3 separate regions of the Homo sapiens genome follow, and all the other regions are linked to region 3. Evidence: promoter capture Hi-C in human tissues and cell types (Jung and others, 2019). All regions are on one chromosome and are shown on one strand. The core of a region is centred on a gene start or on the middle of the fragment in contact, and the rest is flanking DNA. Distances in the headings are between cores, read along the strand shown.

What was found. The method cuts DNA at HindIII sites, captures the fragments that hold promoters and counts their contacts. A contact is called where the count stands out against the background at its distance.
Region 1: a contact is called between a fragment that was not itself captured here and the fragment with the promoter of LGR4 in region 3, in 1 of the 25 tissues and cell types used here (H1 embryonic stem cells).
Region 2: a fragment that was not itself captured here is called in contact with the fragment with the promoter of LGR4 in region 3 in 1 of the 25 tissues and cell types used here (hippocampus).

Annotation. Positions count from the first base shown.
Region 1 is chr11:27,033,992-27,037,403 of GRCh38, reverse strand. No RefSeq gene overlaps it. Among named protein-coding and RNA genes, the nearest start is that of BBOX1, 5.1 kb to the left of the region's middle. The HindIII fragment of the contact is 7,203 bases long and covers 1-3,412 here.
Region 2 is chr11:27,096,113-27,099,556 of GRCh38, reverse strand. All of the region lies in intron 5 of BBOX1 (gamma-butyrobetaine hydroxylase 1), which reads right to left. All of the region lies in intron 3 of BBOX1-AS1 (BBOX1 antisense RNA 1), which reads left to right. Among named protein-coding and RNA genes, the nearest start is that of BBOX1, 57 kb to the right of the region's middle. The HindIII fragment of the contact is 3,553 bases long and covers 81-3,444 here.
Region 3 is chr11:27,471,056-27,474,103 of GRCh38, reverse strand. LGR4 (leucine rich repeat containing G protein-coupled receptor 4) reads left to right here and starts at 1,314. Exons shown (of 18, transcript NM_018490.5): 1 at 1,314-1,986. The coding sequence starts at 1,802. It overlaps LGR4-AS1 (LGR4 antisense RNA 1), which reads right to left and starts at 2,373. Exons shown (of 4, transcript NR_131170.1): 1 at 2,272-2,373; 2 at 1,147-1,326; 3 at 908-936. RefSeq lists silencers at 1,541-1,590, 1,721-1,890, 2,141-2,200. The HindIII fragment of the contact is 14,571 bases long and covers 1-3,048 here.

The sequences.
Region 1 (3,412 bases), core at 563-3,062, 440 kb after region 3:
TTTTCTCCGTAACCTCACCAGCATCTGTTTTTTTTTTTTTTTTAACTTTTTAACAATAGCCATTCTGACTGGATGTGAAATGATATCTCATTGTGGTTTTGATTTGCATTTCTCTAATGATCAGTGATGTTGAGCTTTTTTTCATATGCTTTTTGGCTGCATGTATGTCTTCTTATGAAAAGTGTTCATGTCATTTGCCTACTTTTTAATGTAGTTTGCTTTTTCTTATAAATTTGCTTAAGTTTTCTTATGGAAGCTGGGTATTAGACCTTTGTCAGATGCATAGTTTGCAAATATTTTCTCTCATTTGTATAGGTTGTCTGTTTACTCTGTTAATAGTTTCTATTGCTGTCCAGAAGCTTTTTAGTTTAATTAGATCCCATTTGTAATTTTTGCTTTCGTTGTAATTGCTTTTGGCATCTTCAGCATGAAATCTTTGCCCATTCCTATGTTCAGAATGGTATTGCCTAGGTTGTCTTCCAGGGTTTTTATAGTCTTGAGTTTTAAATTTTTGTCTTTAATCTTGAGTTAATTTTTGTATAAGGTGTAAAGAAGGCATCCATTTTCAATCTTGTGCTTATGACTAGCTAGTTATCCCAGCACTATTTATTGAATAGGGAGACCTTTTCCTATTGTTTCCAATCTTCTGCTTATGGCTAGCTAGTTATCCCAGCACCATTTATTGAATAGGGAATCCTTTTCCTATTGCTTATTTTTGTCAGCTTTGTTGAAGATCAGCTAGTTGTAGGTGTACCACTTTATTTCTGGGCTTTTATTCTGTTCCACTGGTCTATTTGTCTGTTTTTGTACTGGTACCATGCTGTTTTGGTTACTGCTGCCCTATAGTATAGTTTAAAGTTGTGTAGCATGATGCCTCCAGCTTTGGAGAAGAGGGAGTTCCTTCTCCTCAATTCTTCTTGCTTAGGATATTCGTGGCTGTTAGGGCTGTTTTTTGGTTCATATGAATTTTAAAGTATTTTCTATAGTTCTGTGAAGAATGCCATTAATAGTTTGATAGGCACAGCACTGAATCTATTAATTGCTTTGGACATTATGGCTATCTTAATGACATTTATTGTTTTTCTTCATGAGCATGGAATGTTTTTTCATTTGTTTCATCTCTGATTTCTTTGAGCAGTGTTTTGTAGTTCTCCTTGCAGATATCTTTTAGCTGTATTCATAGGTATTTTTTTCTTTTTGTGGCAATTGTGAATAGAATCGAGTTTCTGATTTGGCTCTCAGCTTGACTGTTGTTGATGTATAGGAGTGCTAGTGATTTTGGTATACTGATTATTTTTATCCTGAGATTTTGCTGAAGTTATTTATCAGCTTAAAGAGCTTTTGGGCTGAGACTATGAAGTTTTCTAGATATAAGATTATGTTGTCTGCAAAAAGGATAGTTTGACTTCTTCTCTTTCTGTATAGATACCTTTATTTCTTTCTGTTGCCTGATTGCCCTGGCCAGGATTTCCAGTACTATGAATAGGAGTGGTGAGAGAGGGCACACACGTCTTATGCCAGATTTCAAGGGAAATGTTTCCAAATTTGCCTATTCAATATGATGTTGGCTGTGGTTTTCATAGATGGCTCTTATTATTTTGAGGTATGTTCCTTCCATACTTAGATTATTGAGAGTTTATAAACATGATGGTGTGTTGAATTTTATCAAAAGCCTTTTCTGCATCTATTGAGATAATCATGTGGTTTTTGTCTTTTGTTAAGTTTATCACACTTATTGTTTTGTGTAAGTTGAACCAACCTTGAATTACAGGGATAAAGCCTACTTGATTGTGGTGAATAAGCTTTTTGATGTGTTGCTGTATTTGGTTTGCCAGTATTTTGCGAGGATTTTTACACTGATGTTCATCAAGGATATTGGCCTGAAGGTTTTTTTTTTTGTCATGTCTCTGCCAGGTTTAGGTATGATACTGGCTTCATAGAATGAGTAAGGGAGGAGTCCTTTCTCCTCATTTTTTAAACTTTTTGTTGAATCGCTTCAGTAGGAATGGTACCAGCTCTTCTTTGTACATTTGGTAGAATTTGGCTGTGGATCCTTCTGGCTTTTTATTTTTGATTGGTAGGCTATTTAATAATGATTCAATTTCAGAGATTGTTATTGGTCTGTTCAGGGACTCAATTTCTTCCTTCCTCCCAATTTCTTGGGATGGAGTATGTGTCCAATAATATATCCATTTTTCTAGCTTTTCTAATTTTTGTGCATAGGAGTATTTATAATGTTCTCTGATAGTTATTTGTGTTTCTGTGAAGTCCCCCAGTGGTAATATCTCCTTTGTTGTTTCTATTTGTGTTTGTTTGGATCTTTTCTCTTTTCTTGTTAGTCTAGCCAGTGGTCTATTTTATTAATTTTTTCAAGAAACCAATTCCTTGATTCACTGTTTTTTTTGTTGTTGTTGTTTCTAATGTTTTTTTGTGTCTCAGTCTCCTTCAGTTCAGCTCTGATTTTGGTTATTTCCTGTCTTCTGCTAGCTTTGAGGTTAGTTTGCTCTTGGTTCTTTAGTTGTGATGTTAGATTCTTAACTTGAGACCTTTCTAACTTTTTGATGTATTTAGTGCTATTAATTTCCCTCTTAACACTACCTTAGCTGTATACCAGAGATTCTGGTATGTTGTATCTTTATTCTCATTAATTTCACAGAACTTCTTGATTTCTGCCTTACTTTCATTATTTACGCAAAACTCGTTCAGGAGCAGATTACTCAATTTCCATGTAATTGTATAGTTTTGAGCAAATTTCTGATTTTCTGATTTCTAATTGCTTGTGCTGTGGTTTGAGAGAGTGGTTGTTATGATTTCAATTCTTTTGCATTTGCTGAGGAGGGTTTTGTGTTTGATTATGTGGTCGATTTTAGATTATGTGCCATAAAGTGATGAGAAGAATGTATATTCTGTTGCTTTTGGGTGGAGAGTTCTGTACATATCTACCAGGTTCATTTGATCCAGTGCTGAGTACATGTCCTAAATATCTTTGTCAATTTTCTGCCTCAGCAATCTGTCTAATACTGTCAGTGGGGTGTTGAAGTCTCACACTACTATTGTGTGAGTCTAAGTCTCTCTGAAGGCCTCTAAGAAGTTGCTTTATGAATCTGGGTTCTCCTGTATTGGATACATATATATATATTTAGGATAGTTAGGTCTTCTTGTTGAATTGAACCTTTTACCATTATGTAATGATCTTCTTTGTCTTTTTTGATCCTTGTTGGTTTAAAGTCGGTTTTGCCTGAAATTAGGATTCCAATGCCTACTTTTTTCTGTTTTCCATTTGCTTGATAGATTTTTCTCCACCTCTTTATTTTGAGCCCATGGGTGTCACTGCAGACACTGAAGACAGCATACCAATGGGTCTTGATTCTTTATTCCACTTGCCACTCTGTGTCTTCTAATTGGGGTATTT
Region 2 (3,444 bases), core at 608-3,107, 380 kb after region 3:
GTATTTATTTATATTTTCTACTATAAACTTGTGGCCTTATAAGTTTTATTCAACAGTTATATAGCTTCCATGCAGTGCTATACAAGATAAAAGTTGACTACCACCAAGATCCACATTTATTTTATCTCCTTTTCCTATTGCCTCTTGCCTTCTTTATTTCATTCCCTGAAGTTGAATTTCATATTTCAGATTTTTGTTTCCAGTTTTACCCCATTATTCTTACCAGTGTAACCCTCATTACATGTATTAATGCAACTTGTTGGTGCCAGCAAATAAAACATTCTTAGAAAAAAAACAAATCTGAACTGCTGGGCTCAGTTCTGAAAAGAAGGATGTCTCGCTAGCTAAGGTTAGAAGTTTTATTCTCTTCTGCTTGACTTTTTGGGGAAGAAGAGTCACTCTGAGTTTCCCATGAGGTTAACTTTTAAATTATGGACTGATAAATTTTGACAATGTTGTCAAAGAGCTTTTGTTGTCTTGTTCAGATGGAAGTCTACAATATCTTACTTAGCACATATTCCCTTTCATTAAAATTTCCTGAGACGTAATTGTGTGTCAGGTGCTGAGTTAACAGTAAAGATACGACCTTGATTACGCCACCATTTATGCCTATAAGAAGCTCAACATGACAGTGGCAATGGCAATGATATAAGCCTTCTTAGTTTTCAAAGGTTAGACTGGTAGAGTTACAAGCAGGATAGTTAATTAATAATATAAAATATAGTTGACAAATATTTTTTAAAATGACACTGTACCCTTCCCACCAAGTCTTTCTTTCTCTCCCTTTCTCTGTGTCATGAACACAAACATACTCACAGATCAGCTTATGTAAATAATAATTCCCTGGACTCTCCAGTTTATTTAGTTGTCCAACTCATTAAAAAAGGAATTTTCAGGGTTTGAGTTTTGCCATTTTAGAGAAGATTGTCTGAATTTCTCAATATTATCTTACCAGAATTATAGTATGATAAAGCCATGCATTGCTACAGTCCAGCATAAAAAACAGTAGTGACATCTTACACAAGTGTTGTTCATTTTGTTTTATTAATATAATGCATGTATTACTACTAAAAATAGAATCTGCAACAAAAAGTAGAAATTGCCTTACTTTATGTTAAGAGTTTGTGGGAGAGAATTTCCACTTCTCTTTCCTGATGGGCCATCAAGAGTGCAAAACTCGTTCATTTGAGTGAGGAGCATATAATTATTTTGGTTTATTATAATGCCAGGGCTTGGGGATGAGGTACTGGTAGTGGTTTCACAGAACAGAGGCTGGGAGAGAATTTCTACTGTAGCGCTGCAGAGGATGCCAGATCAATGGGAGGATGTAGCAGGTGTGGTGGTTGGAAGGGAAGAGGAAAAATGTTAGTAAGTCAAGTGAAAAGGGCAAGAAAGGCCAAAAAGCAGCCAAAAAGACATGAAGACTTGGCACAGGTTGTCTGTAGTCAGAATAAAGGTCCAGGAGATATAAAAGCAAGAGAGATACATGCAGCAAACAAAAGGTTAAGCAGGAAGAGAAAGAAGCGGTCCTGAACAAACAAGTGAGAAAGGGACTGATTTAGGGGATGGCCAGGAATAGGGAAGAATGGCATGTCATAGAAATGGCATGTGTCTGAGTTGGATTAGCTTGAGGATGGGGAGGAAGGGCTGCACGACATTGCATAATCTTAATTAAATTTATATTATTTTGCCACACCTATTTACACAACGGTAGCCTGTGTAAATTTTGAGGAGTGGATTCATTTTGTCTGAAGATAATATTGGTAGATGAGTATTTCCCCATCTTGACCATGCTTTGCATCATCCTGGGGATCACCTTCCTGTTATCCACCCTCTTTGAACTGCTGTTGGCATATATTGACTGTCATGTTCCCTCAGTTGGAATGCCAAAAGTCCGGGGTTACTTTTCAGTCTGTTCCTTCGCTTTATGGAATTTTTATTGGCCTAGATTATTTAAAGGAAGCCAATTCAAGTATTTACATTTACCCACATACAGCAATTACAAAAGGTACTTTTTCATAAAGTAGAAACCCAAATCTAAACCCAACAAAATGCCTGGTACAGTGCCATGCACGTATTATTAGTATTCAAGAAAGATACTCTGTTTGATTGACAGAAATTGTACTTTCTTTGGGATTTACTTCGTAGGATACATTCTGAAAAAACATCCTAACTTGGTATAATCATTGAAAATGACAGTGTATGATAGAATGTAGTTTACAATAACTGTTTCCCAATGGATTAAGTCATGTCATAAAATTCATTTATTCAATAATATCACCTTTCCTAAAAGGGCTCCAGAAAATTATTTTCATTGATTTTCTTTTTTTTGGTGGGGGAGAAAGGACATGAGATGAGGCATTTTGGCCTAGTCTGTAAAAACTTTGTGCTAAATCAAAGCTTTAAATTCTCGAAAGGTTGTCTTTTTACATACTGCTCCATGTTTACATGTATTTGACAAAATTGACAATGAGAATTTCTTTACCTACTCTTATTCTTTTGTCCTAGGAAAGTATTCATCATTATCAAGTGAGTAAAGTTACTGAGCATTTCACATGGTTGCATAAAAAAATATTGTCTAGATGATGATGTGCTGACAAAATAATGACAAGCATCTGAGAAAATACAGATGTGGAAAATGACATGCACTTTTGTCCTGAAAGTTATTGCCATTTTGATTTAGTTGAACATAGTTTATAATGGTGAAAGATTCTAATAATTATTGTATTTATCTGCTGGTTTATAGTCCTTTACAAAGATTTAGGCATGATTTATTCATTAAACATTTATTCCTTGCCTTCTGTATATGAAGACTACATGAAATGCTGGAATCTACTGTTTTTTTGTTCATCCAACCAACCACCTAACAACTGAGATGACAGCCAAGAACCAAAAATAGCTATTCTCATTCTCATTTTAGACTCATGCATTTAACATTTTTGAAACTAATAACCCTACTTGAATGGCAAAGTGCGAGGTGGGTACTAGTTTCCCAAGGAAGGCATGTCTAACGTGGCACCATCAGCAAGCTATTATTGTTTTAGGCATCTAACCAAGAGCAGTCATAAGCTTCCTTGAAAAATCTGCATGGAGAGCAAAGTTTACTTTTAATCTGTTCCTACTTTCCTTTTTCTACCCCTCTTCTATTGTTTAATCTCTTTTCTCCATTATTTATTGTGTGCATTTATTCATTCCATTCACTCACTCACCAACTAATTATTTTTGAAACAAGAGTAAGATACTTTTCCAGTGGAGAAACAAAGATATGAAAGGGAGGGACATTGTTTAAGGCAGCTACTGAGTCTGTTCTGAAGATGTCATATCCAGGCACAAACAAAGTAGAAAGAATAACGTGGTAAATGCCATTTTGTGCACATCATTGTGAGAGTTCAGATGATATAAAGCACCCCAGTTCTATCCCAATGGAGACCTGACTTCTATTGA
Region 3 (3,048 bases), core at 65-2,564:
TGTTGCCCAGGCTGGAATGCAATGGCGCGATCTCCAGCTCACCGCAACCTCCGCCTCCCGGGCTCAAGCAATTCGCCTGCCTCAGCCTCCCGAGTAGCTGGGATTACAGGCATCTGCCACCACACCCGGCTAATTTTGTATTTTTAGTAGAGACGGGGTTTCTTCATGTTGGTCAGGGTGGTCTAGAACTCCCAACCTCAGGTGATCCGCCCGCCGCAGCCTCCCAAAGTGTTGGGATTACAGGCGTGAGCCACCGCGCCCGGCCGAATCCTGCTTGTTTTAATGTATTCATTAAAAATGTCTCCATTATAGAGTAAAACGACTCAACGCCATGGCAGAGAGCAAGAAACGAAGTACCCTTAAAGCCGTAGTTGGTACAGGTAATGATTCCGTGGGGTCTATTAGGCCACAGGGACTCAAAATCCAGAAGAGGAGGGAATGCTGATAATTACCTAACACCAACGTTGCTGCTGGCTTCTCAGCCGTAGTCACCTCCCACTCAGATGTTTTGGAAATTGTCCAGTGTTCAGAAACATCACTTTCTCTGACCTTTTACAAAATTCCTGTGTTTCAGGATTTTAAAGTGCGTGAGAAAGGAGTCTAATTTGCAGTCACCAAAAACACCAAATACAGAGAGAGGACTGGGGAGAATGAATTGCTAAGACTTAGCTACCAAATGTGTATCAAGATAGGTGTAAAGATCCCAGGTGAAGTGAGGCACTGGAGAGGGTACACTTTTAACTTAGTGTATAGCTAAAACCCAAAGATGTGTGTCAGATCGAGGGAAACTTTTTTCCTCCTCTTCAAAATCTTTTTTCCGTTTGCAGAGCTCCAGACGTCCTCGCCCTTTGGAACAGCGGAGAGTCATTTAAAACTTAACTGAACGCTGGAGGGAAGTTCTACTTACCAGGTCATCCAATTTAGGAGATCCAATTTCTGCGGAGGGAACAAAAAGACGGGTGGGGGAGGGAAAAACTAGACCCCTTGTCCTACTATCCTTCTACCTTCAATCCACAACCTGCCAGACAAATCCAGCCAAGTCAAGATTTTGCCTTGAACCACCACCACCACCACCACCACCACCGCCGCCACCACCACCACCACCACCGCCGCCACCACCACAACCACCACCACCTTGTCACTCACGCCCGAGAAACACGCCCCTCTGGTCCTCCTCTTGGCCAATGGCGGCTCTCCTCTCTGCATAGTAATGAGCTCGAGACCTCCCCGGGCCAATGGCGCTCCGGGAGAAGGGATACTTTTGCATGTACCTAAGTGATTTGCATAAGCCAGCGGCCGGGGGTTTGGGAACCAGAGCGTGCAACCCTAGAAGGGAAAAGGACGGGAAGAGATTGAGCCGCGGCTGGGAGACAGCGAGCCAGAGTCTGGGTGTTTGTGCGAGAGCCACGGCGGGGGCTGGGGCGAGTGGCCGGCATGGCTGAAGGCTGCGCTCTGCAACCTTGAAGAGCCGCTGCATTGAGAGGCCAGGGACAGGGAGACCGGTGCGATGGCAGAGCGCGGCCCCCGCCGCTGCGCCGGGCCGGCCCGGCTGGCGTGAGCCGCCGGAGGAGCGGGGCTGCCTCTGCGCGTCCATGGAGCAGCGGGAAGGGCGAAACTCCGGAGCGCCGCGTCCCTGCGCCGCTGCGGCGGACTGCTGAAGGGGCCGAGCCCGCGCGGACCGCCGAGGAAGAGACCCCCGCTCCAGCCCGCAGGCCGGCTGCCCGGGGGCGGCGGGGGACATCGGAGGGCAGCGGAGCGAGCAGCGCCGCGGGAGAGGCCGGCGCGGGAGGCGGCCGCAGCAATGCCGGGCCCGCTAGGGCTGCTCTGCTTCCTCGCCCTGGGGCTGCTCGGCTCGGCCGGGCCCAGCGGCGCGGCGCCGCCTCTCTGCGCGGCGCCCTGCAGCTGCGACGGCGACCGTCGGGTGGACTGCTCCGGGAAGGGGCTGACGGCCGTGCCCGAGGGGCTCAGCGCCTTCACCCAAGCGCTGTGAGTGCGGGCGGCGGGGACGCGAGGGGGGGGGAGGAAACGGGGCCCAGCGGGGGGCGCCGCGGGGCGGAGCCAGGGGTCAGTCCCACCCCACCCCGCCCCGCCGCCGCCCGGGCCTGGGGAGGGGGTCCGCCGGTCACCTGCGTGCGGGCTGCCTGGCACCCACTCCTGTGCCACGGGCTTTCCGCACTTTGCTAGTCCGGGTTCGAGCCAGCAGTAGCTTTCGTTCCCAGACTTTTTGGGCACAAGCACCCTCCCACCCCACCGCGCACACCCCCAACTCACAAGTGCATCTGGGGCCAAGAAGGAGGAAGTAATCTAAAAACGCTTGCCCCTGGCAGCCTGTCCACGCGACCTTCCCTTCTCATGAGGGCCCTCGCTCAGCGGGCAGGAGTTCCGCTACTGGCGGGGCTGAGGGCGCCGAGAACTTGGCCTCAGTCTGCATACCGAGGCATGTCTCGTGGGGAAGCACCTGGAGCCTCCTGGGTTCCAGCATGTGGGGAGAAGAAACACCTGTACCTCAGTCAGGGCGAATCTCCTTCCAATTTGGCCCCATCCAGGTAGTGCGTCCCGGCACCTACCTCGGCCCAGTTCCACTCGGGACTACCCCACTAACGCCCAGGCTTCTGCAGCACGCAGGGGAGTCCGAGAAAACAAGGGAGAATTACAGGGTTCTGTTGGTGGACATGCTCTTACCCAACAAGGCCTTTTAAAGAAGGAATGCTGACCTGAGGTGCAGGATGTTGGAAGAGAAGCAAGTTCCGGAGCATATGCTCAGCCCAGGCTGCAAGGTAGCAGCAGGTTTCTAATGCACCTTCACGCAGCCAGCAGATCTTTTCTTTTGAGCTGCCTGAGATCGAGAGACACACTGAAATGTTTCAGACTTACAAAATCGCCCTGCCAAAACGGACTTGAGAGCTTTAGACGTTCCCTTGAGAAAAGAAGAGGAATCTGAACTAGGTTGTGGAGGTGGTGGCAAAGGCCACGGATAGAGGAGGAACAGGGTAGGGTTTTTGTGTTCTTATTGCTTCTTGCGTTGCGTGGCCAGCTGAATGCTTAAAT